2 separate regions of the Homo sapiens genome follow, and region 1 is linked to region 2. The links are contacts of gene promoters, found by promoter capture Hi-C in human tissues and cell types (Jung and others, 2019). All regions are on one chromosome and are shown on one strand. Each heading gives the region's core, a stretch centred on a gene start or on the middle of the fragment in contact. The rest is flanking DNA. Distances are from core to core; before and after follow the strand shown. Region 1 overlaps LOC105376626 (a long non-coding RNA gene). Region 2 holds the start of SLC1A2 (solute carrier family 1 member 2).

Region 1 (2,700 bases), core at 100-2,599, 390 kb before region 2:
GGGGAGAATGGATCCAAGTTAGAAAACACTCTTCAGGATATTATCCAGGAGAACTTCCCCAATCTAGAAAGGCAGGCCAACGTTCAAATTCAGGAAATAGAGAGAACACCACAAAGATACTCCTCAAGAAGAACAACCCCAAGACATATAATTTTTAGATTCATCAAGGTTGAAATGAAGGAAAAAAATGTTAAGGGCAACCAGAGACAAAGGCTGCGTTACACACAAAGGGAGGCCCATCAGACTAACAGCAAATCTCTCTGCAGAAACCCTACAAACCAGAAGAGAGTGGGGGCCCCTATTCAACATTCTTAAAGAAAAGAATTTTCAACCCAGAATATCATATCCAGCCAAACTAAGCTTCATAAGTGAAGGAGAAATAAAATCCTTTACAGACAAGCAAACGCTGAGAGATTTTGTCACCACCAGGCCTGCCTTACAGAGCTCCTGAAGGAAGCACTAAACGTGGATAGGAAAAACTAGTACCAACCACTGCAAAAACATGCCAAATTGTAAAGACCATCGATGCTATGAAGAAACTACATTAATTAATGGGCGAAATAACCTGCTAGCATCATAATGACAGGATCAAATTCACATATAACAATATTAACCTTAAATGTAAATGGCCTAAATGCCCCAATTAAAAGACACAGACTGGCAAACTGGATAAAGAGTCAAGACTCATTGCTGTGCTGTATTCAAGAGACCCATCTCACTTGCAAAGACACAAATAGGCTCAAAATAAAGGGATGGAGGAAGATCTACCCACTAAGCAAATGGAAAGCAAAAAAGGAGAGGTTTCAATCCTGGTCTCTGATAAAACAGACTTTAAAGCAACAAAGATCAAAAGAGACAAAGAAGGCCATTACATAATGGTAAAGGGATCAATTCAACAAGAAGAGTTAACTATCCTAAATATATATGCACCCAATACAGGAGCACCCAGATTGATAAAGCTAGTTCTTAGAGACCTACAAAGAGACTTATACTCCCACAGAATAATAATGGAAGACTTTAACACCCCACTGTCAATATTAGACATATCAATGAGACAGAAAATTAACAAGGATATCCAAGACTAGAACTCAGTTCTGGATCAAGCAGACCTAATAGACATCTACAGAACTCTCCACCCCAAATCAACAGAACATACATTCTTCTCAGCACCACGTTGCACTTTCTCTAAAATTGGCCACATAATTGGAAGTAAAACACTCCTCAGCAAATGTAAAAGGACAGAAATCACAACAACCTGTCTCTCAGACCACAGTGCAATCAAATTAGAACTCAGGATTAAGAAGCTCACTCAAAACCACACAACTACATGGAAATTGAACAACCTGCTCCTGAAAGACTACTGGGTAAATGACGAAATGAAGGCAGAAATAAAGATGTTCTTTGAAACCAATAAGAACAAAGACACAACATACCAGAATCTCTGGGACACAGCTAAAGCAGTGTGTAGAGGGAAATTTATAGCACTAGATGCCCACAAGAGAAAGCAGGAAAGATCTAAAATCGACACCCTAACGTCACAATTGAAAGAACTAAAGAAGCAAGAGCAAACAAATTCAAAAGCTAGCAGAAGACAAGAAATAACTAAGATCACAGCAGAACTGAACGAGATAGAGACACAAAAATCCCTTCAAAAAATCAATGAATCCAGGAGATGGTTTTTTGAAATGATCAACAAAATTGATAGACTGCTAGCAAGACTAATAAAGAAGAAAAGAGAGAAGAATCAAATAGATGCAATAAAAAATGATAAAGGGGATATCACCACCGATCCCACAGAAACACAAACCACCATCAGAGAATACTATAAACACCTCTACACAAATAAACTAGAAAATCTAGAAGAAATGGATAAATTTCTGAACACATACACCCTCCCAAGACTAAACCAGGAAGAAGTTGAATCACTGAATAGACCAATAACAGGTTCTGAAATTAAGGCAATAATTAATAGCCTACCAACCAAAAAACGTCCAGGACCAGACAGATTCACAGCTGAATTCTACCAGAGGTACAAAGAGGAGCTGGTACCATTCCTTCTGAAACTATTCCAATCAATTGAAAAAGAGGGAATCCTCCTTTACTCATTTTGTGAGGCCAGCATCATTCTGATACCAAAGCCTGGTAGAGGCACAACAAGAAAAGAATTTTAGGCCAATATCCCTGATGAACATCAATGCGAAAATCCTCAATAAAATACTGGCAAACCGAATCCAGCAGCACATCAAAAAGCTTATTCACCACAATCAAGTTGGCTTCATCCCTGGGATGCAAGGCTGGCTCGACATAACGCAAATCAATAAATATAATCCATCACATAAATAGAACCAATGACAAAAACCACATGATTATCTCAATAGATGCAGAAAAGGCCTTCGACAAAATTCAACAGCCTTTCATGCTGAAAACTCTCAATAAACTAGGTATCGAAGGAACGTATCTCGACATAATAAGAGCTATTTATGACAAACCCACAGCCAATATCATACTGAATGGGCAAAAACTGGAAGCATTCCCTTTGAAAACTGGCACAAGACAATGATGCCCTCTCTCACCACTCCTATTCAACATAGTATTGGAAGTTCTGGCCAGGGAAATCAGGCAAGAGAAAGCAATAAAGCGTATTCAAATAGGAAGAGAGGAAGTCAGATTGTCTCTGTTTGCAGATGACATGATTGTATA
Region 2 (2,700 bases), core at 165-2,664:
TTCAAAGAATCCTTTTGCCCCCTGCAGCCCCTTCTGTCTCTTGCTAAAGACAATTGTCTTTAGTTATCACTGCGAGGGAGCTTTCCCCATGCCAGCTGGAATCTTGGGAGGCAGGACACGACTCCAGATCCTCGGGCTGAATAGGGAAGCCAATGCTATCCCTGCCCGCTGGAGTCTGGCGACTCCTGCCCTTGTCCCAAACCACACGTTTTCCCGCCTCCCGGGAAGCACCCAAATCTCTTCCACCCTTCCTTAGAGCTAGCCAGGGAGATTCCGCCTTCCAGGGACAAGGACCGATCGGAGCGGGCCCAGCATCTCCATGGCGACTCTGCAAACCTGGCGTTCAAGGCCGCGCGCGCTGGTCCTTGCCCCGCCCCAGGGCCCTGTCTTGGCTCATTCCTTCCGAGCCGGCACCACCTGCAAGCCCGCCTCGGGCCTGGGGCGCCGCGCTCCAGGCGCTGCTACCCCGGTGTCTGCTCACACTATGCCCAATCCCCTATTGTTTTGAAATCCCAAAAGTAACCTCAAGAGGATTTCTTCCTCACACTCTCAGGCCCCCAGCGCACCTTACCCTTTTTATCAAAATAAAACAACCCTCCACCTCTCGCATTTTCAAAGGATTAAGCAGCAATCTCCAGGAAAGAAAATCAATCCCCTCCCCACCATCCCATCCCCAGCCAAGCTACGGCTCCGCCACCACCTCCGAGGCCCGCCGCCGCCGCCTCTCTATCCGCATCCCGGATAGGGGCGCCACCACCCCGCGCGTGACCCCGCTTTCCCGCGGGTACAGATAAAAATCCCCTCACCCTTCCGTAGATGCCATGGTCTGGGGAACGCCCCCTCCTCTTCAGCACTATCCGGCAGCTGTGGGCGAGGGAGAAAGCGGACGCCGGGGTGAGCGCGAAGTGCGGCCGGGAGCGGTATTTAAGAGGAGCCTCTGCCCGCCCTTCCACCCGCCTCCGGGGTAAGCCCTTTAGCGCCTCAACGGGCGCAGGAGGCTCCTGCGGGCGCTAATCCGCGTCCCGGCTCTCCACGGCGCGCGACCCGCGCTCCCCTCCGCCCGCGGGGATGGCGCTTGGCGGGGAGCTCCGGGGGCTCCGAGGGTGGCTTCCCCGAGAGAGCGATGCGCCCAGGGCTGCAGGAGGGCGCACGCCGGCGATGCGCCCCTGCAGCCGCTGCCACCTGTGCTTTGCTGCGGGGCTCGCGGGCGCGGCGAGTGGCGGGAGCAGAGAGTGGTGGCAGAGGACGGTGAGCGTGCGTGCGCGTGTGCGGGTGTGTGCGCGCCTGGGGAGGCGGTGGAGGCCGCTGCGCTCTGGCTCGGCGCCGGCCAGGGAGGGATTGCAAGGTTTAGCCCCGCCGGAGCTGGGGATTTGCAGGCGATCCCTCTCTATTTTCGTCGAGAGCTGACATCACCCGCGCCGCCGCCTCGGGCAACTCCTTTAACCGCCGCCCCCCGCCCCCATCTCCAGTCGCGGTCCCTCCTCTGCCATCCCTCCCCCCAGCCTCTCGCCATAAATTAGCCAAATAAGAAAAGAGGCCCCGCCGCTCGTCCGGGAAGGCTTGGGCAGCCGGTGGCAGGAGCCCAGGATCTAAGGAGTAGCTATTGTTTCCCCTGAAGCCCGCGTGGCCCCAGGTCACCCCGTGCGGGGTGAAGCGCAGGCGACCGCGCGGAGACCCGGGATGCCCCTCCGTCTCCGCCTCCCTGGAGCAGCCCCTGGCGCTCCCTCCTCACTCCCCGGAGCACCCGCTTCAGCTCACACTCACCCCCAAACTCACAGGCAGGCACACCCACCCCATCCTCCCACGTCTGGGGGTCCCAGGTCCAGCGGAGTCGAGCGGCTGAAACACGCGGGTGGTGCAGCCTAAACGCGGCCCAGCTGCGCTCCCTCCCCCGCCGAAGCTCGAATAAATCTCTGGCCTTCAATTATTCAGCGAGATTAATATTAATGCAGCTCCCTGGGGGCGGCGGGCGGGGTGCAGGGGAGGCCGGGATTTTTTTTTTTTTTTTTTAGGCCGAGAGAGGTCGGCCTCGTGGGTGCCGGCTGAGAAGGCGCGGAGAGTTGGCCGAGGGGTGAGTGGCGGGGGACGGTTCTCCACCCACTCGGCGCTGCTCGCCGCCTGCTTCCGTGTCCCGGGGGCGGCGCACAGAGACAGATGGGCTTGTGCAAGGGAGAGTTCGAGCCTTCCGGACGCCTTTGCATAAAAATGACGAGACCTGTGCAGCTTTGATTATCTCTGGAATACTGCAGGAACCTAGGGTCCCACTACTTGCCGACCCTGTGAGCGCAGAGCAGGCAAAGCCTCACTTTCCTCGTCTAGGCAATGGAACCCAAAAGAACTCACTTGGAGGGCCACAGGAGAATTAAACAGACTCTCTTTTTCCCCGGGGTAGACGATCTTCGGATTTGCGCTGTGCTGGACCTTGTTAGACGATGGAACGCGACCGGCCACGTGCAAACTCTCTGAGTAGGTCCCGGGGATGGTGCCAGAGGAGCCGGAGTCCCAGCAGGACCGATTGGTAGTTAAATGCCAGGCGCTGATATCCGAAGGCTTGAGTTCTTCACCACCTTCTAGCTGAGTAACCTGGGGCAAATTCCTCCATCTCTCTCTTCATCCCACCTGTAAAATGGGACTATCTTCTCCCACTTCTCTGTGCTAAGAGAACTAAATGAAATGGAGAGGATATGTAAAACTCCTAAA

What was found. The method cuts DNA at HindIII sites, captures the fragments that hold promoters and counts their contacts. A contact is called where the count stands out against the background at its distance.
Region 1: a fragment that was not itself captured here is called in contact with the fragment with the promoter of SLC1A2 in region 2 in 2 of the 25 tissues and cell types used here (H1 embryonic stem cells and aorta).

What each region holds. Positions count from the first base shown.
Region 1 is chr11:35,023,513-35,026,212 of GRCh38, forward strand. All of the region lies in intron 3 of LOC105376626 (a long non-coding RNA gene), which reads right to left. Among named protein-coding and RNA genes, the nearest start is that of MIR1343, 83 kb to the left of the region's middle. The HindIII fragment of the contact is 5,690 bases long and covers 1-2,700 here.
Region 2 is chr11:35,418,144-35,420,843 of GRCh38, forward strand. It overlaps SLC1A2 (solute carrier family 1 member 2), which reads right to left and starts at 1,415. Exons shown (of 11, transcript NM_004171.4): 1 at 807-1,415. The coding sequence starts at 823. SLC1A2-AS2 (SLC1A2 antisense RNA 2) reads left to right here and starts at 914. Exons shown (of 2, transcript NR_186310.1): 1 at 914-964; 2 at 2,393-2,700. RefSeq lists an enhancer at 1,061-1,561. The HindIII fragment of the contact is 13,805 bases long and covers 1-2,700 here.